4 separate regions of the Homo sapiens genome follow, and regions 1, 2 and 3 are each linked to region 4. Evidence: promoter capture Hi-C in human tissues and cell types (Jung and others, 2019). All regions are on one chromosome and are shown on one strand. The core of a region is centred on a gene start or on the middle of the fragment in contact, and the rest is flanking DNA. Distances in the headings are between cores, read along the strand shown.

Evidence for each region. The method cuts DNA at HindIII sites, captures the fragments that hold promoters and counts their contacts. A contact is called where the count stands out against the background at its distance.
Region 1: a fragment that was not itself captured here is called in contact with the fragment with the promoter of NFKBIA in region 4 in 1 of the 25 tissues and cell types used here (lymphoblastoid cells).
Region 2: a fragment that was not itself captured here is called in contact with the fragment with the promoter of NFKBIA in region 4 in 3 of the 25 tissues and cell types used here (dorsolateral prefrontal cortex, liver and lymphoblastoid cells).
Region 3: a contact is called between a fragment that was not itself captured here and the fragment with the promoter of NFKBIA in region 4, in 1 of the 25 tissues and cell types used here (hippocampus).

The regions. Positions count from the first base shown.
Region 1 is chr14:34,995,350-35,001,384 of GRCh38, forward strand. It overlaps SRP54 (signal recognition particle 54), which reads left to right. Exons shown (of 16, transcript NM_003136.4): 2 at 1,328-1,438; 3 at 4,209-4,300; 4 at 5,587-5,671. The coding sequence starts at 1,361. Among named protein-coding and RNA genes, the nearest start is that of SRP54, 15 kb to the left of the region's middle. The HindIII fragment of the contact is 6,797 bases long and covers 268-6,035 here.
Region 2 is chr14:35,058,791-35,064,478 of GRCh38, forward strand. The region is part of intron 2 of FAM177A1 (family with sequence similarity 177 member A1); the gene reads left to right. Among named protein-coding and RNA genes, the nearest start is that of FAM177A1, 15 kb to the left of the region's middle. The HindIII fragment of the contact is 3,938 bases long and covers 1,849-5,688 here.
Region 3 is chr14:35,801,026-35,806,384 of GRCh38, forward strand. The region is part of intron 1 of RALGAPA1 (Ral GTPase activating protein catalytic subunit alpha 1); the gene reads right to left. Among named protein-coding and RNA genes, the nearest start is that of RALGAPA1, 5.6 kb to the right of the region's middle. The HindIII fragment of the contact is 7,645 bases long and covers 1-5,359 here.
Region 4 is chr14:35,403,499-35,408,872 of GRCh38, forward strand. NFKBIA (NFKB inhibitor alpha) reads right to left here and starts at 1,251. Exons shown (of 6, transcript NM_020529.3): 1 at 920-1,251; 2 at 192-300. The coding sequence starts at 1,146. RefSeq lists enhancers at 1-52, 83-132, 1,237-2,108, 1,313-1,712, 3,690-3,749 and silencers at 333-922, 1,073-1,242. The HindIII fragment of the contact is 5,540 bases long and covers 1-3,771 here.

The sequences.
Region 1 (6,035 bases), core at 2,416-4,915, 410 kb before region 4:
AGAACTCAGAGAGCCATTGATGTAGTTTTAATCCAAAGGCTTGAGACCCACAAAGAACCAGTGTTTCAGTTTGAAGGCAAGAAAAGCTGATGTCCCTGTTAGCAGTCAGACAGGAGGAATTCTCTCTTAGTGTTTATTTTAGTGTTCATTTGTGTGCCTTGTCTTACCAGCTAGTAGGTAAGCATCTTGAGGGCAGGGACTACAAATCATATTTGCTTGTTTATCATCCATAAGCCCTTGCATCCTTACAAGTAGTAAGTACATCTAATATGTAATACTTTTATAAAACAGTAAGATTTTAGAGCTGGAAAGGGTTTTTGACTCTTAGTTAACTGAAACAGAAAGTCTGTTGCATGTGACTATTTTTTGGAAGAACCAGGATCAGAATTTTATTTTCGGTTCCTCATCAAGGGCTTTTTCTAATAATTCTTATTAATAATAAATGATAACTTAAATCATTATCCTATTTTAGAGTTTTCCTGGAATCAGAAACAGGTTTAAAATGGGAAGAGAACCAGCCTTGGCAACATAACATAGTGAGACCCCGTCTCTACAGATAATAAAAATTAGCTGGGCATGGTGGCATGCACCTGTGGTCCCAGCTACTTGGGGGGCTAAGGCAGGAGGATTTCCTGCGCCCAGGAAGTTGAGGCTGCAGTCAGCTGTGATCACACCACTGCACTCCAGCTTGGGTGACAGAGTGAGACCCTGTCTCAAAAAAAAAAAAAAAAGAGTAAAATAATATACCTCTTTCCTTTGTGGTTAGAAGAATAAAATGAAATAATGTATGTGGAATCACTTAGTATAGCGCTTCGATATAGCTGATAGCTGAACAGTTGCTTTTTTTGTACTAGAAAAGTTATTAAAACCTTTTTTCTTTTTTTTGCTTAGGAGCAAGAATCAAAATAGTTTGCAGAGTCCTTTAATGTGGGAAATTAGGCAGTATTCCTGGAGATTTCACCTTTTTCTCCTCTTTTAATTTAAAAATGTGCATGATACATAATTCAGTTATTCATAAGTATTGTGCCAAAAAAAGAACATATTTAATGTGAGATTATGTCATTATTTCCTCAAAGTATGGTATTTGACATGTTAAATTTGCTGATTCATATACAAGATTCCAATTAAGTATTCAAATATAAGGCATCATAACCAAGTAGCAGTTTTATCTTTATGACATGACTGTATTTAAGCACAGGTTGAGGCTATGGAAGGTGATCTTACAGTATCTAAACACTAGAGTAATTTGAACTTAAATACTCTTTAGAACTCTTCAGTCATGGGAAGTGAAATTGATTATTCTCACTTAATTTTTTTTCTGCTGTAGAGTTCTTCGTAAGTACATCTTAAAGCTGTCAAGATGGTTCTAGCAGACCTTGGAAGAAAAATAACATCAGCATTACGCTCGTTGAGCAATGCCACCATTATCAATGAAGAGGTATGTAAAATATTGTATGAAATATATATGATTGTATATTGTCACTAGCATTGGGAAGATGGCTTATTCATAATCCCTGTATTTATATGTATTTTGATGTAGACTTAATACTTGTAGATAAAAGCCTAAAAGTGGATACAGTAAGTAGTGTTTTATTGAGAAATTAACTACAACTTCAAATTTACTTCAACTTTCTATAAAGAATTTTCCAAAAAAAAATCGAAAAAAACCTGACCTTAACTTACATGTAAAAATAACATATTTTATCTTTTGAAAGTGGCTTAAATCTGGAACTGTACTTTTGTTTTCTTTATTGATATAGACCTAAAATTTCATTACTCTGCTTCTTTCTTCTTGGCTAGGCCTGTGCTTATCTGTCCTTTTCTTTGTGACTTTTATTTAGCATTTTTATAAAAGGCTAGCATTTCCATCTTGTCTGTTTTGATTCATTTTCTTTGAAATCTTCAGTTTTTTGGAGATTTTGTAAGCCACTCCTTAGATGATATTAAAATACTTTTCTTCCCGGCTATATTATTTTAAGATATTTCTTTGTTCCATTTGTCCCCCACAGATTGTATCTTAGTGGTTTATTAATTGAAAAAGTTGACTGTGGTTCACAAGTATACTTTATATTTTGTATCAACAATGGAAAAGTACTGAATTTGGTGTTAGAAGACATTGGTTAGTCCCACTGTAGCTATTTAGCAGCTGTACGATGTAAATTGGGGCAACTAAACCTTAGATTCCTTAGTGTATAAAATAGGAAAAATAGCATTTACCATAGAAAATGGTTTTAAGTTTCAAATAAACTTTCTAACTTGGAGGTTAGAAAACTTACGTAGAATTCTTACATGGAATTTGATCTCAATACTAAGCTAACGGAATTAAATAATTTTGAGACCATCTTAGAGATCATTTAGTTCAGCCTCTTATTTAACAGAACCAAAGTCAGTTTCATGTGATTATTTATTTGGAAGAACCAGGATTAGAACCTTTTTTTCCTAGTTCCTCATACAGGGCTTTTTCTAATACTGCTTATTAAAAAATAAATCATAACTTAAATCATTGTTTGGTCTTGTAATTCCAAATATATAAAACGACTTTCCAAACAGTTTTCCCTGTTGTGTAGCCCTTATGTTCTTTGTGTTTATAGTAGAAAGGAAAGGAAACCAGGGGAGGAGTTCTTGGTGGGAGGTAGAGTAACAGCTGTTGCTTAAATTGGCAGCTTCTCTGTTCTTGATACTGTGCTGCTAGCTAATTAACAAGGAGAAAGCCCTCTAGTGAAAGATCAGTTCGAATTTTAGCAGACCCGTTTAATGAGGGATAGAGAAAACTGGTAAGCCTCTCTCTGTAGGGCATATGAAGTGAGTTGAAGGAGAGAGAACATTCAAGAAATATTTGAGGGCCTATGTTTTTGCAGACATTTTTGCTGGCACCAGAGATACAGCGGTGAACAAAATAGACTAAAATTCCTAACCTCATAGAGTTTACATTCTAGTGTGTGAGCACTTTATATACATGAGTGGCTAAAGCCTCATCTTTTCTTAAGACTTTTAATTTTATGACCTTTTAACTACAGTGCCTTGCAATTCAACAAACATATGATGATAATAAGTTATTAATGGAGAGTAGCCTCCTTTCCACCTGTATTCTGCTGCTCTAATAAAAATGACAAGACTGGGTAACTTCCTTCTGTCACATTTACTTCCATAATTGTCCAGTTTTTAAGAAAAGCAATATTAAGCCGGGTGTGGTAGCTCACACCTGTAATCCCAGCACTCTGGGAGGCTGAGGCGGGCGGATCACCTGAGGTCAGGAGTTTGAGACCAGCCTGGCCAACATAGTGAAACTCCATCTCTACTAACAATACAAAAAATTAGCTGGGCGTGGTGGCAGGCGCCTGTAATCCCAGCTACTAGGGAGGCTGAGACAGGAGAATCTCTTGAATCTGGGAGGCGGAGGTTGCAGTGAGCCGAGATCACGCCATTGCACTCCAGCCTGGGCAACAAGAGCGAAACTCTGAAACTCTGTTCCAAAAAAAAAAAAGAAAAGCAAATATTGTAACTATATACCACTACATAATAGTGACAGGAGCTCTTCAATAAAGTAGAAAACATCAAAGGCAACATCTATTTGTAGTAACTTTTTTTGGCTTGAATATTGTCTTTATTATTACTTTGTGTGTATGTGTGTGTGTGTGTGTGTGTGTGTGTGTGTGTGTGTGTGGTTTTTTTTTTTTTTTTTTGAGACAAAGTCTCACTCTGTCACCCAGGCTGGAGTGCAGTGGCACTATCTTGGCTCACTGCAGCCTCCGCCTCCCGAGTTCAAGTGATTCTCCTGCCTCAGCCTCCTGAGTAGCTGGGATCACAGGCACGTGCCACCATGCCCAGCTCATTTTTGTATTTTTAGTAGAGATGAGGTTTCGCCATGTTGGCCAGGCTGTTCTTGAACTCCTGACCTCAAGTGGTCTGCCCACCTCGGCCTCCCAAAGTGTTGGGATTACAGGCGTGAGCCACCATGCCGGGCCTATAATTACTTTTATATAGGAATAAAATTGTGGCAATTAATACTTGGGTGTAAAACTAAATGGGGTCTCTTATTTTGACAAAATGACTAAACATTTAATAAAATTATCTCTCCAAGAACTAACTGAAAAACCCAGTAGTGTGGTATTACTAAGCTGTGGTTATGTAAGTGATCAACAATTGTTTTTATGGAACTGAAATGAAACATTGGGTGCTTTAAATTTCATTTATTTCTTTATTTTCAGGTATTGAATGCTATGCTAAAAGAAGTCTGTACCGCTTTGTTGGAAGCAGATGTTAATATTAAACTAGTGAAGCAACTAAGAGAAAATGTTAAGTAAGTTAAATCAATCAGGTAAAACACAGGCACAGTTTAGTTTAGTTTACTGGAAAGAGGTGCTAACTGGAAGTGTTTGCTGTATCAGGAATCATTTCTGCTCTGCACCACTGGAAAAGTGCTGTGTTGGAGCTCATATGTTGGGCGAGAGCATGTGTAGTACGTTTCCATAATGATGGTTCAAAGAATAAACTACATGTGATTTTCATTTAATTACATATTTTTTTCTATTTTACTAGTCTTTTATTTGAATGGATTTGATTAAATACTGTATAGTATTTTAATATATAAAGCCTTTTAACAATTCAGGCTCTTCATAGAAAAGTACTGCCATTTTATTCTTTTTAGGCTTAAGATGATCTTAATCAACCTTCATTATTGGAGGACTGTATTCTCTTTTGTTCTCCTTTTGGTTTCTCTGTTTCATATTTGAATGAAGAATTAATGTGTTTGGTCTCAGTTATCATATTCATTGGGAGAGGCACTGAGTTGGTAGGACACACAGAGCAATACAGGTAGCTCAGTTAACTGCTTGAGTCTTATCTCTTACCATGCTTTAGACATCTCTCCTTGTATTGTTAGACTGAGATTAGTTGTGGGACTACCAGCATTTAAGCATTTAGACATAGAGGAAGTAGCCGGGCGCAGTAGCTCACGCCTGTAATCCCAGCACTTTGGGAGGCTGAGGTGGGTGGATCACGAGGTCAGGAGATCGAGACCAGCCTGGCCAACATGGTGAAACCCTGTTTCTACTAAAAATACAAAAAATTAGCCGGGCATGGTGGCACACGCCTGTAATCCCAGCTACTCAGGAGGCTGAGGCAGGAGAATTGCTTGAGCCTGGGAGACAGAGGTTGCAGTGAGCCGAGATCATGCCACTGCACTCCATCCTGGCTGATAGTGAGACTGTCTCAAAAAAAAAAAAAGAAAAAAGAAAGAAAAGAAATAGAGAAAGTAGTCCTGATTTCTGTTGTAAAGATATATAAAATATATAAGCTGCAAGAAAAGTAAATAAAACTAGTTCTTTGTGGTAATATTAGGACAAATTTATATTTATACTTTCAAGTGTAATCCTTGAAAACCAAAGTCTTGCATCTAATACTTCATGGGAAAACTCTTTATGATATAGACTTACGAGTCTGTAGTAATTACATGCATGTTAATTGGAAGACTATTAATATGAATGACTGAATGTTGTACATTCTTTGGAGCAGAAGCTTCTTTTTCTTAGAGTTTCTTAACTGATTTTCTCCTCCCCACCCCAATCACCAACCACCATCATAAAGGTCTGCTATTGATCTTGAAGAGATGGCATCTGGTCTTAACAAAAGAAAAATGATTCAGCATGCTGTATTTAAAGAACTTGTGAAGGTAAAAGTATATGAAGATTATGCTGTGATTCTATACTCAGTGGATAAAAAAGCGTTAGCACTACAAATATTTCAGAATTTTTAAATATGTTTTTTATGGAATATTCATCTGTATTAAAATATTAATGAAAGGATTATTGAGTTTTCTTAGGGACCTTTTTTTTTTTTTTTTTGAGAAGGAGTTTCACTCTTGTTGCCCAGGCTGGAGTGCAACCTCCGCCTCCCGGGTTCAAGCAATTCTCCTGCCTCAGCCTCCCGAGTAGCTGGGATTACAGACGTGCACCACCATGCCCGGCTAATTCTGTATTTTTAGTAGAGACGGGGTTTCTCTATGTGGGTCAGGCTGGTCTTGAACTCCTGACCTC
Region 2 (5,688 bases), core at 2,568-5,067, 340 kb before region 4:
GCTGGAGCCCAGAAGTTTGAGGCTGCAGTGAACTGGGATCTCACCACTACATTCCAGTCTAGGTGACAGAGTAAGACCTTGCCTCAGAAAAAAAAGGAAAAAAAAAGTCTGTTTTGTCTGCTACTGATATTGCCATGTGAGCTTTTTTTTGTTTTCTTTTTTTTTGGGACGGAGTCACTCTGTCGCCCAGGCTGGACTGCAGTGGCATGATCTCGGCTCACTGCAAGCTCCGCCTCCCGGGTTCACGCCATTCTCCTGCCTCAGCCTCCCGAGTAGCTGGGATTACAGGTGCGTGCCACCACACCCAGCTAATTTTTTGTATTTTTAGTATTCACCATGTTAGCCAGAATGATCTCAATCTCCTGACCTTGTGATCCACCTGCCTCGGCCTCCCAAAATGCTGGGATTATAGGTGTGAGCCACCACGCCTGGCCAGTGTGAGCTTTTTTATAGTTTGTTTTGTATATCTTCTTCCATCCCTTTTACTGTGAATCTGTTTGTATTTTTTAATCTAAAGTATCTCTTGTAGACAGCATATAGTTGGATCTTGTTTTTTTTAATCCAATCTAACAATCTCTGCCCTTTGATTCAGTTGTTAATCCATTCATATTTTATGTTGATTTAGTTGGATTTACATCTGCCATTTTACCTTTTATTTTCTATGTCTCATGTCTTTTTGCTCCTTTCTTTTCTACTGTTATCTTTTGGATTAAGTGAATATTTTCTACAGAAGCATTTACATTTCTTTTTTTTTTTTTTTTTTTGAGACAGAGTCTCACTCATCGCCAGGCTGGAGTGCAGTGGCGCAATCTCGGCTCACTGCAACCTCTGCCTCCCAGGTTGGGTGATTCTCCTGCCTCAGCCTCCCGAGTAGCTGGGATTACAGATGCACGCCACCACGTCCTGCTAATTTTTGTATTTTTTAATTTTTGTATTTTAGTAGAGACGGGGTTTCACCATGTTGGTCAGGTTGGTCTCGAACTCTTGACCTTGTGATCCACCTGCCTCAGTCTCCCAAAGTGCTGGGATTACAGGCGTGAGCCACCACACTCCACCAATTTTGTGTTTTTAGTAGAGACAACCAAGCTGGTCTTGAACTCCTAACCTCAAATGATCCACCTTCCTTGGCTTCCCAAAGTGCTGGGATTACAGGCGTGAGCCACTGCGCCTGGCTGTTTTTTTTGTTTTGTTTTGTTTTTTAAGATGGAGTTTCACTCTTGTCGCCCAGGCGGGAGTGCAGTGGCGTGATCTCGGCTCACTGCAACCTCTGCTTCCTGGATTCAGGTGATTCTCCTGCCTCAGCCTCTGGAGTAACTGGGCTTACTGGCATGCACCACCATGCCCGGGCTAATTACTGTATTTTTGGTAGAGACTGGGTTTCACCATGTTGGCCAGGCTGGTCTGGAACTCCTGACCTCATTTGATCCACCTGCCTTGGCCTCCTAAAGTGCTGGGATTACAGGCATGAGCCACTGCGCCTGGCCAGTTTTTGTTTTGTTTTGTTTTTAATAATTTCTGTCTCTTTTTTGATACTCTCTGCTTGATGTGATACTGTTATACCTTCCTTTATTTTTAATTTATTATTTTCTTAGGTCTTCAAACATATTTATAAAAGCTATTTGAATTTTTTTTTCTGTTAAATCCAGCATCTTGTCAGTCTCACAGGTATTTTTTGTTGCCTGATTTTTTTCCCTATGTATGGGTCATACTTTTCTGTTTCTTTGCATGTCTCATAATTTTTTGTTGGAAACTAGATATTTTAGATTATATATTATAGCAACTCTGGGTACTGTGCCCCCATATCTTGTCATTGTTATTTGCCTGTTTATTTGTTTAGTGACTGCTGTGTTCTTTTAGTGAAGTCTATTCTCCACTCCTATTCTTTCCTGCAAATTAGCTAGCCTATAGTTTAGCCTGTATTTTTATTAAATCTAAGAATCTTCTCCCAGTTACAGTAGTCCCCCCTTTATTTGTAGTTTTGCTTTTTGTGGTTACCCATGGTCAGTTGTGCTCTGAAAATATTAAATGGAAAATTCCAGAAATAAACAATTGATAAATTTTAAGTTGATCACCGTTCTGAGTAGCATCATAAAATCTCATACTGTCACACTTGGTACCTCCTTCATCAGAAGAAGGGTGCATACAGTACAACATGATATTTTGGGAGACCACATTCATATAACTATTATTACAGTGTATTGTGATAATTGTTCTATTATTAGCTATTGTTAATCTCTTATTGTGACTAATCTATAAATTAAAATTTATCATAGGCATGTGTATATAGGAAAAAACAGTATAGGGTTCAGTATTATCCGCAGTTTCAGTCACCCATGGGAGGTCTTGGAACACAGCCCCTGCAGATAAAGGGGGACCACTGTACATTTTGCTACAATCTCCAGTGTTTTTGAGAACACCCTTAGCCTTGGACTTTTCTAGGTGTGTTGCAAATGAAGTCAGTTCCTTTGGGAAGAGATTAGGAGTTGTCTGCTTTGTTTCCTGTCCTGGCTGGCTCCCCTACCCCAGCCCCGCCCTTCTGCCTCTCACTCAGGGCAATCTCTGAGCCAAGGTTTTGGAGCTGGGGGTGGGGACAATGGCTCATTTCTGTCTGAATAACACCTTCACTTTAGGAGCTGAGCATTTATGGGAGGTGGGGTCAGTAGCTTTAAGTATTTTTTTTTTTTTTTAGTCTTTGTTTTACAAATGTCTATTTGTTTTTTTCTCATTTCTTTTTTTTTTTTTTTATCTCACTCATAGATGGGAATTGAACAATGAGAACACATGGACACAGGAAGGGGAACATCACACTCTGGGGACTGTTGTGGGGTGGGGGGAGGGGGGAGGGACAGCATTAGGAGATATACCTAATGCTAAATGACAAGTTAATGGGTGCAGCACACCAGCATGGCACATGTATACATATGTAACTAACTGGCACATTGTGCACATGTACCCTAAAACTTAAAGTATAATAATATTAAAAAAAAAAGCTGTAAGTATTTTTGACTTGCCTCTGCTGGCGTAGAACTTGCCTCTGCTGCCTTATGAACTGGGTAAAGGCGATCAGGGCCCTGGTGTTCTCAGTGGTGCCATGCTCAAGGTAGAGCCTCCATTCTGTGAGCAGAGGCTGGTGGAAGAAGAGAGTCACCCCCTGTCAACCACACTTACCTGGAAATTGGCCTCAGTAATAGATGAGAAGTGCTGGTTAATATTCTGTTCCTCCTGAGAAGAAAACCCAACTGGAAGCTGAGGGGAGGGGGAACCCTGTATTCTTGGCTGTACCAGTCTGAAGTGCAGTTTCTGCCTTCCTTTGCTGGGAGGGTGCTGAGAGGGAGTGGTCTTAGTTCAGTTACCACAGACGTTTGCTTTTGTTACCAAATTTTCATAGATTTTCTTGAATAGATGTTTATTCATTTATATGCCATTAAGACCATTTCCAGGTGCTTTAAATGTTTATTCTTTAATAAATTTCATCAGTTTTACTGGGAAGTGGGCCCAGAGTTCCTCATGCTGTTATGATAGAGGTCTATATCCACTATTAAGGTCTTTAATGACCATGTATATAGCATATTCATGTTGGAATTTCCCTGAGTTGTGAAGCCCAATCCAACAGATCCCTGGGTGATAAGAAATCTTTTTATATTTTCTTCACTGAGAGGTACCATGAGATGTCAGAAACTTGGTTTTTAGTTCTGGCTCTGTCCTGTAGTAGTCACCTTGCTTTGACAAAGACTTAACTTTCATTGTAGTTAAAGTTCCATGATTACAAAGAAGAGAGATAACTTGCCTCACCTACCTGTAGTTGTTTTTAAAGATTAAATGAGATAATATCTATGAAAACTCACTGAAAAGTGACTTGGCTGAGCACAGTGCCTCATGCCTATAATCTTTGCTTTGGAGGGCTGAGGCAAGAGGATTGCTTGAGCCCAGGAATTCAAGGCTGCAGTGAGCCATGATCATGCCACTGTACTCCAGCCCGGGCAACAAAGTGAGACCCTGTCTCAAAAAAAAAAAAAAGAAAAGAAAAATATATGGTAGTATTAATTAATAAAGCAAATATAGCAAGTAGCACAAGAAATTTTATTTGCGGTTTTTTTTTTTTTTTTACTTAAGGTAATTTTAGAACTCGATTTGAGATTGAAACCCCATAACTTATTTTTTAAATTTTCTCTATAGTTCCTATTTAGTATCATTTAAAAAAAAAAAAAGGTCGGGTGCGGTGGACCACGCCTGTAATCCCAGCACTTTGGGAGGCTGAGGTAGGCGGATGAATGGCAGGAGAATGGCTTGAACCCGGGAGTCGGAGATTGCAGTGAGCCAAGATCGCGCCACTGCACTCCAGCCTGGCAACAGAGTGAGACTCCATCTCAAAAAAAAAAAAAAAAAAAGATCTAGTTCTATATTCAGATTTTAGTATCATTTTAGAGTTTATAAAATTGATTTATGACTCCAATTTTTAAATATCAATTTTAAAGCTTTAAAATTATATTTTCCCTTTGGGGCCAGGCATGGTGGCTCTTGCCTGTAATCCCAGCACTTTGGGAAGCCAAGGTGGGTGGATCCCTGAGGTCAGGAGTTTGAGACCTGCCTGGCCAACATGGTGAAACCCCGTCTCTACTAAAAAAAAAATACAAAAAATTAGCCAGGCATGGGGGCGGGTGCCTGTAATCCCAGCCGCTTGGGAGGCTGAGGCAGGAGAATCGCTTGAACCTGGGAGGTGGAGGTTGCAGTGAGTCAAGATCCCGCCATTGCACTCCAGCCTGGGCAACAAGAGTGAAACGCCATCTCAAAATAAATAAATAAATTTTCTCCATAGTTCCTATTTAGTGTCATTTTCTTTTTGAAATAACAAATCTAGTCCTGCACCCAGATTTAGTATCATTTTAGAGTTTATAAAATTGATTTGCTTTATGATTCCAATTTTGAAATATCAAGTTTAAAGCTTTAAAATTATATTTTTTCTTTTGGGCCACATTACATGGCTCTTGCCTGTAATCCCAGCACTTTGGGAGGCTGAGGTGGGCAGATCACTTGAGGCCAGGAGTTTGAGACCAGCCTGGCCAACATGGTAAAACCCTGAAACTCCATCTCTACTAAAAATACAAAAATTAGCTGGGCTTGGTGGCACAAGCCTGTAATCCCAGCTACTCGGGAGGCTGAGGCAGGAGAATCGCTTGAATCCAGGAGGCAGAGATTGCAGTGAGCAGAGACCACCCTACTGTGCTCCAGCCTTAACCACAGAGCGAGACTCTGTCTCAAAAAAAAAAAAAAAAAAAAAATCCCTTTTGGTACTTCATGCCTTTAAGAGTGCAATGGGCCAGGTGCAGTGGCTCACACCTGTAATCCCAGCACTTTGGGAGGCCAAGGTGGGCAGATCACTGAGGTCAGGAGTTTGAGACCAGCCTGGCCATCATGGGGAAACCTCGTCTCTACTAAAAATACAAAAATTAGCTGGGCGTGGTAGCATGCACCTGTAATACCAGCTACTCGGGAGGCTGAGGCAGGAGAATCCCTTGAACCTGGGAGATGGAGGTTGCAGTGAGCCGAGATCGAGCGACTGCACTCCAGCCTGGGCAACAGAACATGACTTTGTCTCGAAAACAAACAAACAAAAAAGTACAATGATTTTTTTAGGCAATATGAGCTGTTACTGTACTGTCAGTTGGTAGCTTTATGTTATAACTCAGC
Region 3 (5,359 bases), core at 2,207-4,706, 400 kb after region 4:
AAAAAGAAAATAGCAAAGACCAAAGCAGACATCAATTAAAAAAAAAAAAAAAACCACACACACACGGAAAAATCAATAAAACCAAAAGATAGTTCTTTTAGAAGATCAATAAAAGCGATAAGACTCTAGTCAGGCTGATCAGGAAAAGAAAGACAAATTATCAGACAAGAAACGAGAAGGATAACATTACCATGGGTCCTGCTATATATATATACACAGACACACACACACACACACACACACACACACACACACACATTTGAGATAGAGTCTCGCTCTGTTGCCCTGGCTGGAGTACAGTGGCATAATCTTGGCTCACTGCAACCTCTGCCTCCTGGGTTCAGGTGATTCTCCTGCCTCAGCCTCCCTAGTAGCTGGGACTACAAGCATGCGCCACAAGGTCCAGCTACTTTTGTATTTTTAGTTCACACAGGGTTTCAGTATGTTGGTCAGGCTGGTCTCGAACTCCTGACCTCTAGTGATCCACCCGCCTTGGCCTCCCAAAGTGCTGGGATTATAAGCATGAGCCACCATGCCTGGACATGAATCCTATAATATTAAAAGGATAATAAGAGAGTATAATCAACAATTTATACCTATAAATTTGACAACTTAGATGAAATCTTCTGTTTATACCAACAGAAACAGAAAAAGCATTCAATAAATCCAACATCCATTCCTGATAGAAACCCTCAGCCAACCAGGAATAGAATGAAACTCTCTAAATCTGATAAAGGGCATCTACAAAAAACCTACAGTTAGGATCATATTATACAGTGAAAAAAATCAATCGATTGCTTTACCCCTAAGATCAAGAACAAGACAAGACTGCCCACTCTCATTACTTCTAATCTATGTCACATTGGAGGTTCTAGTCACTTCAGTAAGGCAAGAAAAAGAAATAAAGGGCATCCAGATTAGAAAGGAAGAAGTAAAACTGTATTTGCAGACTGATTCTCTATGAAAAATATCCAAAAGAATCTACAAAAAACTAACAGAACTGGCTGGGTGCTGTGGCTCACACCTGTAATCCCAGGACTTTGGGAGGCCAAGGCAGGTGGCTCACGAGGTCAGGAGTTCGAGACCAGCCTTATCAACATGGTGAAACCCCGTCTCTACTACAAACACAAAAATCAGCCAGGCTCAGTGGTGTGTGCCTGTAATCCCAGCCACTCAGTAGGCTGAGGCAGGAGAATTGCTTGAACCTGGGAGGCGGAGGTTGCAGTGAGCTGAGATCATGCCACTGCACTCCAGCCTGGGCAACAGAGTGAGACTCTGTCTCAAAAAAATAAATAAATAACAGAACTAAGTCAGTTCAGCAGGTTTGTAGGACATAAGCTCACTATACATAAATCAGTGGTATTTCCTGATATGAGATCCAATCAGAAATAGATATAAAGGTAACATTTACAAAAGATCAAAGTAGAAAGTATTTAGGTATAAGTCTGACAAAAGATGTATAAGACCTGCACACTGAACTACAAAACACTGCTGAGAGAAATTAAAGAAGTCCTAAGTAGGTGGAGAAACGCCTTGTTCATGAATCAGTGTATTCAATATCGTCAATTTTCCCAAATTGATCTATAGATTCAACATAATCCCAACCAAAATCCCAATAGGTTTTTTGGTGGTGGTGGGTTTTTTTTTTTTTTAAGAAACTGACCTTTAAAAAAAAAAATACAGTGTCACTGTGTCACCCAGGCTGGAGTGCAGTGGTGCAATCATGGCTCATTGCAACCTCGACCTCCCAGGCCCAGGTGATCCTCTCACCTCAGCCTCCCAGGTGACTGGGATCCCAGGCACACACTACCATGCCCAGCTATTTCTTTTTTTTCTCTTTTTTGGAGAGATGGGGTTTCAGCATGTTGTCCAAGCTGGTCTCAAACTCCTGGGCTCAAGCAATCTGCCCACCTGAGCCTCCCAAAGTGCTGGGATTACAGGTGTGAGCCACCACACCAAGCTCAACTAATCTTTAGACTCATATGGAAATGTAAAGGACCTGGCATTTGGGAAAAAAAGAAACTTTGAAAAGGAAGAACAAAGTAGGAGGGACAACACTACTTGATTTCAAGATTTATTATAAAGTTACAGTAATCAAACACTGCGGTACTGGCACCAACAAAGATAAACAGATCACTGGAACAAAATAAGAGTCCAGAAATAGGCCCACACATATTTCTGGAAAACTAAATTTTGGCAAAAGTACAAAGGCAATTCAGTAAAGATAGCCTTTTTCAACAAACAGAGCTGGAACAACTGGATATTCACATGCAAAAACGTAAACTTCTAGCCACCTCATACCATAGTTAAAACTCAGATGAATCATAGAGGAAAATAGATCCTAAAACTGTAAAACTTCTAGAAAAAAGCATAGAAGAAAATCTTTGTGATCATGGGTTAGGCAAAGATTTTAGATACAAAATAAAAAAAATAAATTAAAAATTGATATATAGACAATAAAAATTAACCATTTCTGCTTCTTCAAAGAAACAACTTCTTCTTCAAAGAAAACTTTAAGAGAACGAAGAGACAGCCCAAAGACTGGGGAAAAAAAAATCTTTGCAAATCATGTGTCTCATACAGTATCTGTATCTAGAATATATAAAGAACTTTTTTTTTTTTTTTTGAGACAGTCTCACTCTGTTACCCAGGCTAGGGTGCAGTTGCACAATCTTGGCTCACTGCAAACCTCCACCTCCCAGGTTCAAGCAATTCTCCCATCTCAGCCTCCTGAATAGCTGGGATTACAGTCATGTGCTATCACACCTGGTTATTTTTAGTAGAGATGGGGTTTCACCATCTTGGCCAGGCTGGTCTCGAACTCCTGACCTCAAGTGAGCCACCTGCCTCAGCCTTCCAAAGTGCTGAGATTACAGGCATGAGCCACTGCACCTGGCCTAAAGAACTTTCAAAACTGAATTAAGAAAGCAAAAAAATTAAAAGACATGTAAAAGATTTAAACACAAACTCATCAAAGAAGTTATACAATGGTCTTGGGAGGCCGAGGTGGGTGGATCACCTGAGGTCAGGAGTTCAAGACCAGCCTGGCCAACATGGCGAAACCCCATCTCTATTTAAGTACAAAAATTAGCCAGGCATGGTGACACCCACCTGTAATCCCAGCTACTTGGGAGGCTGAGGCAGGAGAATCACTTGAACTGGGGAGGTGGACGTTGCAGTGAGCCAAGATCAAGCCACTGCACTCTAGCCTGGGCGACAGAGCGAGACTCCATCTCAAAAACAAACAAAAAATTGTGAATAACGGCTGGGCGCGGTGGCTCACACCTGTAATCCCAGCACTTTGGAAGGCTGAGGCTTGAGGATCACGAGGTCAGGAGTTCAAGACCAGCCTGGCCAACATGGTGAAACCCTGTCTCTACTAAAAATACAAAAATTAGCTGGGCCTGATGGTGCACACTTGTAATCCCAGCTACTTAGGAGGCTGAGGCAGGAGACTTGCTTGAACCCGGGAGGCAGAGATTGCAGTGAGCCGAGATCGTGCCATGGCACTCCAGCCTGGGTGACAGAGTGAGACTCCATCTCAAAAATAAATAAATAAATAAATAAATAAATAAATAAATAAATAAATAGTGAGTAACTATTCAGAAATAAAAAGAGATTAACAGTTAGGTACAGTGGCTCACACCTGTAATCCCAGAATACTTTGGGAGGCTGAGATGGGAGGATTGCTTGAGTCCAGGAGCTTGCAACCAGCCTGGGCAACATGAGACCCCATCTCTACAAAAAAAAATTTTTTTTAATTGGCCATACACGGTGGTGCATGTCCCAGCTACTAGGGAGGTAGAGGAAGGAGGATCGCTGGACCCTGAAAGGTCAAGGCTGCAATGAGCCACGTTTGCAACACGGTACTCCAGCCAGAGTGACAGAAGACCCTGTCACAAGAAAAAAAAGCAATGAACTATTAACATACCAGGATACAGATTAATTTCAAAATAATGAGGCTGAGAAAAAGAAACCAAGGCCAGGTGTGGTGGCTCACGCCTGTAATCCCAGCACTTTGGGAGGCTGAGGCAGGCGGATCACGAGGTCGCGAGTTCAAGACCAGCCTGACCAACATGGTGAAACCCCATCTCTATTAGGAATACAAAAAAAAAAGGCGGGGCGCCGTGGCTCATGCCTGTAATCCCAGCACTTTAGGAGGCTGAGGCGGGGGGACTGCCTGAGCTCAGGAGTTCGAAACCAGCCTGGGCAACACAGTGAAACCCTGTCTCTACTAAAATACAAAAGAAAAAAAAAAAAGAAAAAATTAGCCAGGCTTGGTGGCGTGCGCCTGTAATCCCAGCTACTCAAGAGGCTGAGGCAGGGGGATTGCTTGAACCCGGGAGGCGGAGGTTGCAGTGAGCCGAGATCGCGCCACTGCATTCCAGCCTGGGTGACAGAGTGAGACTCCGTGTCAAAAAAAAAAAAAAAAGAAATCAAACATAAAATGACCGTACTGCATAATTCCATTTTTATGCTGTATAATCCCATTTATATAAAACTCTAGATAATGCAAACTAATCTAGGGTGACAGCAGATTAGTGGTTGCTCAGGAAAGGTGGGAGGGTACAACTGAGGTGGGAGAAAGAGATTACAAAGGGGCATGAGAAAACTTTGGGAGGTTATACATACATACATATATATATTTTTTCTTTTTCTTTTTTTTTTTTTTTTCCTGAAACGGAGTCTCGCTCTGTTGCCCAGGCTGGAGTGCAGTAGCGTGATCTCGACTCACCACAACCTCTGCCTCCCAGGTTCACGCGATTCTCCTGCCTCAGCCTCCTGAGTAGCTGGGACTACAGGTGCACGCCACCATGCCTGGCTAATTTTTGTATTTTCAGTAGAGTAGAGACCCGGTTTCACTCTGTTGGCCAGGCTGGTCTTGAATTCCTGACCTCGTGATCCGCCCACCTCGGCCTCCCCAAGTCCTGGGATTACAGGCATGAGCTACCGCACCCAGCTGATTATACATATATTATCCTGATTGTCACTGTCTATATTTGTTATCTTGATTGGATATTTTAAATATTTGTTATGATGGTTTCAGGAGATATACATATGTAAAAATTATTCAATTATGTACTTTAAATATGTGCAGTTTATTGTGTGCCAATTATACCTCAATAAAGCTGTCAGAATTATTTAACAATAAATATTTTTAGCTAAATAAGCACTTTTTATTTTTATATCAAGAGGACTGAACTGTTAGCTGTAAAGTAGAACAAAACTAACACTAAGTCAATACCCACTATATGCCAAGCATTATGTTAGCCAATTTACATGTGCTAATTTATAATATCATTACCATTAGTTGTAAAATGGGGGGGAGGGGGTAGGTAGAAAGGATAACAGCTTTAGA
Region 4 (5,374 bases), core at 1-2,500:
CCAGGTGGGTCATAAAGACCTCACCAAATCAGTGGAATTTCCTTCACTCTCTAGGATGTGGGCTGATGTGAAGTAAAAGGTGAGGGTAAATAGTGCTCAGTGGCCCTGAATTCAGAAAGGATCTGGGGTGACTCTGCTACATCAGCTACGTCCCAGGGTCAGAGAGAACCCGGGCCAGGCAAGCGGCGCACCTGCTGCAGGTTGTTCTGGAAGTTGAGGAAGGCCAGGTCTCCCTTCACCTGGCGGATCACTTCCATGGTCAGTGCCTTTTCTTCATGGATGATGGCCAAGTGCAGGAACCTGTGGGGAAGAGAGGGAAAAACCCCAGGGGTGGTGAGTGCACCGCGTGGGGCCCAGGGAGGCGCGGGCTGCGGGGGATTGCGCAAGGCCGGGGTTTCTGGAGGCCGAGGCCGCGGTGTTTTCCGCGAGGTTATTATGAGCTGAGTGTTCCTGGCAGGCGCCCAGGGACTTTCCGCCCCCCTCCCCCCGCGGCCCCGGCGGGCGCCGGCCAGACCGCCCCGCCCTCCCGCCAGCTCGGAACGCCCTGTACTTCCCCTCCCGGCTGCTCGGCGCCCGCCAGCGGCCAGAAACTCCCGCCCCGCCTTATGCAACCGGGGACTTCGCGTCCCCGCTGCCGCCCCGCCCCCGGCCTAGAGGACGGGTCTGGGGGGAGGGGGCGTGTGGCGACGCTGCCATCCACCAGGGCCCAGCCGCCGCCCCTCCGAGTTGGGCCGGTGCCCCGCGCGGCCCTGCAGCCCTGCAGCGTTCGGGGCGGTGCAGGAGCCCCGGGGTGCCGCGGCGCCCGCCCGGCTGCATCGCTGGTCCCCCGGCTCGGGCTCCAGGCCCGGCGCCTCCCACCCCCAGGCCGCGCGCGTCCCGCCCTCCCGACGACCCCCAGCCCCGGGCCTCCGCCACTTACGAGTCCCCGTCCTCGGTGAGCTGCTGCTTCCAGGGCTCCGAGCCGCGCGGCACCTCCTGCGGCTCGAGGCGGATCTCCTGCAGCTCCTTGACCATCTGCTCGTACTCCTCGTCTTTCATGGAGTCCAGGCCGCTGTCGTGGCGGTCGTCCAGTAGCCGCTCCTTCTTCAGCCCGTCGCGGGGGCCCTCCATGGCCCACTCCTGGGGGCGCTCGGCCGCCTGGAACATGGCGCGGACGAGCTGCGGGCGCTGCTGCGGGTGCGCTGGGCCGCGGGCTGCGCGCTGCTTCCTCGCTGGGGCGCTGGCGGGCGGGACGGCGGCACGGACTGCTGTGGGCTCTGCAGCGCCGCCGCGGCGCCCTATAAACGCTGGCTGGGGATTTCTCTGGGGCGGGGTCAGGCTCGGGGAATTTCCAAGCCAGTCAGACCAGAAAAAGAGAACTGGCTTCGTCCTCTGCTAGGGGGAAAAAGAAGCCTAAACCCTGAGCTGGGGTTCATCGGAGAAACTCCCTGCGATGAGCCACTAGGGTCACGGACAGGGAACTTTTTGATGAGCGCCGAGTGGCTGGAAAGTCCTTCCGACCAGGCCCCCTCCCCCCGGTACTTCCCTGCAGCCTGCACCCTGTAATCCTGTCCCTCTGCAAGTGAGCCTTCTTTCCCTGGGGTTTCCCACGATCGATTTGAATTGGGGTCGTCGGCTGCTGAGATCCCAAGGACGCCGACCTGATGGGCGGTCCCTCTTTGGGGTTTGCCAACCTGCCGGTCCTTTCCGTTTTTTGATCTTTTGAAAACGCAAGAGTGGAAATGATGGCTGGGCGTAGGGATTTGCTTTCCCCAGACTTCTAAGGGGAAGGACGCACTGTGGTTAGGGGGCTGCAGGCCGCGCCGGTGTTTCTGCCTATACCAGGCTCTTTGCAGCAAAGGAACTTTTAGCTTCGCCCCCACCCCCCCACGCACCCCCGCCAGGTAGAAGTTGTGAAAGCTTTGGAGGAGTGAAAAGCCTAAATCCTTGGAGAACTCTCAAATCACTTCCTAGGGATGAACAGCCCTGTTGACTGGGGGAGGGGCAAACGCTCCCTGTATGGGGAAACTGCTGAATAGGACCATGATTTTTTTTGTTTCCCAAGTAAAGCAAGGTGTTAATGTTTGTAGTGGTGGTTGTGGATACCTTGCAATAGCAGAGTAGCTATTGTGTTCATAAGTAGCTATTCGTTTATGCTATCTGACCTACATTGTGCTCCCGCAGAAAAAGGATCGTGAGCCTACTTCTGGGCACCCAAATTCGAGGAGAACTTAGAGAAGGAGGCTGAAGAATGAGTTTAGTTAGTGCCTTAACCGCGATTGGACCTTAAGGACCACTAAGAAAGTAGTTGCCAGGCATCCTGCGGGAGGCTCAAGGTAGTCCCATCCTGCCCGCCCCTCCTTGCTCTCTTGTCCTGGGGGACAGTAGCAGTTGGACCCATTCACGCCACCTGGGTAGAAAGGGGTTTCGGCTCACTATGCTCTGGTTTCACCTGCAGAAATATAATTTATGCTCTCCACTCCACCTCCACCTCCAAGCCTGCAAGCCATGGACTGAATTCATCTACTTGGTAGAATTGGTACAGGCAAAATAAAGCAAACTTCGGTCAGAGCTCTTCAGAATTAGTCCCAGGAGGCCTCTGTAGTTCTGCAGAGATTTCTGGTGATTATTGCAATCATCTTTACCTTGACTGGCCTTGTACTAACCAATCCTTCCCCTCTCTTCGTATCTCCACCCCTCCCCTAATATTAGAATGAAAGAAATCTGACTCGATAGAGAGAGACCAAGTATGAAGGGAAAAAAATTAAAATCAGATAGACCCTCCAGGGTAATAATGATCACATGTTACAATGAAAACTTCCCAGGGATAGACACCATTGTCTCTGCAGGTTTATGATATGCAAATCTACAATGATTGAGGCAAGGTGAAACAGTGACTGCAATGGGACATCTCAATTCCAGGTTCTATCTTTACTTGACTGCACATTAGTTGGAGAGGTCAGTTAACTTTTTTGTGGTATACTTAACTTTTATAATAAGATTAGATTGAATGTTACTTAAGGTCTTTTCTAGCTTAAAAGTCATATTGCTTGTCTACAAATGCATGCCTAACTCTCCTTTGTAAGGGTGACCATGGCTCTTGGAAATGTCAGGGTATAAATTTTTGAAAGAATTCCAGCGCCTTATGTACCACATTGTTCTCAGAACTAATCTTGTAAGATAGATATTGTTCCTACTTCCCTAAAAAGAAACTGAAATGCATAGAAATTTACCCAGGAACCCCTTGGCAGTATATTAATCATTTGGCCAAAGCAGTCTTAGTATTAACACTTTTGAAAACACGCTGTGAAAATCAGACTGACTACACTATAATTTGGAATGTACTCAAAAGTATTTTCTACTCCAACTGTTAGGGAAAATAAAGGGTGGGTGTCCCCTGACCCCCATCTGGGGATAGTCACTTCTTTTAAACAAGTACAGAAACATCAAACTCTAAATGTCCCAATTATAGAGGATACATCAGAAGAAGATATTTGGCTTCAGGTATAAAAATGGTTATAAAAAATAAAAATATCTGAGGAATAAGGTTTTTTTGCACCACCTTCTATGGTTTTATATTTCTGGTAGCCTTCAGGATCTTGGTGTTTATTCCTGATTGTTTTGTGTGACACCTAGTGGTAAGAGTAAGGCACAGGCGTTCCTTGATTTGTCATAGTGCCTTTTGCAAAAATTGGGAGGTGCTGAGCCTTGATGACTTGTCCCTACAGTGGAGATTTCCAAGGAGGTACCTATTGTTTTCCTGCGACTCTGGGAAACAGTTTTGAATAATGTGATCCAACAGGTTTTCTCCCCATCATCTATAGCGCTATATGGTTTAAGTCAACAAACATTACAACGTGGGTGAAAAAGAATATACACTTGGAAATTAGAACCATGAGCAGACTGGGCAGAAGACAACAAGAGGGTCTGGTTTTGATTTAGAAAGACCTTTATGGGCCAGGAGTTGTGGCTCACTGCTGTAATTTCAGCACTTTGGGTTGCTGAGGCAGGAGGATTGCTTGCCACCCAGGAGTTGGAGACCAGCCTGGGCAACAAGGCTAAACTCTTGTCTCTACAAAAAATATAATTAGCAGAGTGTGGTGGCAGGTGCCTGTAGTCCCAGCTACTCCAGAGGCAGAAGTGGGAGAATTGCTTGAGCCTGGGAGGTGGAGTTTGTAGTGAGCCATGATGGCACAACTGCACTCCAGCTTGAGCAACAGACTGAGACCCTGTCTCAAAAAGAAAAAAAAGAAAAAGAAAGACCTTTATGGACCCTTCAGCACTCAGATTTTTCTCCTCCTCATTGTCAAACATTCTAGCTAACATAACCGTTAAAAAAAATGTTAAAACTGTAGGCTGTGCGCAGTGGCTCACGCCTATAATCTCAGCACTTTGGGAGGCTGAGGCAGGTGGATCATGAGGTCAGGAGTTCGAGACCAGCCTGGCCAACATGATGAAACCCCGTCTCTACTAAAGATACAAAAAATTAGTCGGGTGTGGTGGTGCAGATGCTGCTTAGGAGGCTGAGGCAGGAGAATCACTTGAACCGAGGAGGCAGAGGTTGCAGTGAGCCGAGATCGCGCCATTGCACGCCAGCCTGGGCAACAGGGTGAGACTCTGTCTCAAAAAACAAAACAAAACAAAACAAAATACTTTAGATAACTGATTTTTAATGTTATTTGGCCTTTTTAATGCATAAGGCAAAATAATAAGTTACACCTCAAAGCTGCTTTGTATTTTGGCCCAGGACGCAGCCGTAGGAAATGACAGGACGGCCAGTGATGCTCCAGGAGCACCCCCATGGGAAAAGGAGCATCGCCAGGGCCTGGTTTGGCTGCAGGCACTTCAGGCACTCCTCCTGCATGGAACAAGCACAGTATGGACAAAACCTATTGCCTGAAGTGCCATGGAGAGAGTCTACAAGTTCAGCCAGGTGGTCCAAAATCCTCAGGGCAGGGTGGCCTGTGTCAACTGGCCTGGCCAATTAAAACTAAATTGTTTTGGCTACAGCAAATTCAACTCTGGAATCAGGCTACCTATTGCTCAGTGCAGCTAGGCTGGAAGAAAGACGAGCCATGACAGAGTTCCTGAAGAGCAAGGCAGGTGCACTCCCAACTGGCAGCCCCACTGTGAAATTCTAAATATTCTGCTTTCAGTCTCAGGTTGTCTTCTTTCTTGCTATCGTGGTAGCAACTGTCTGCATCCTCTTCAGAACAGGGAGCCCCCAAGCTATGGATCTTTTCCCATAGAAAAACAAGGCTGGGGGCGGTGGCTCCGACCTATAATCCCAGCACTTTGGGAGGCTGAGGCGAGCTGATCACCTGAGGTCAGGAGTTCAAGACCAGCCCGGCCAACATGGTGAAACCCCATCTCTACTCAAAATACAAAAATTAGC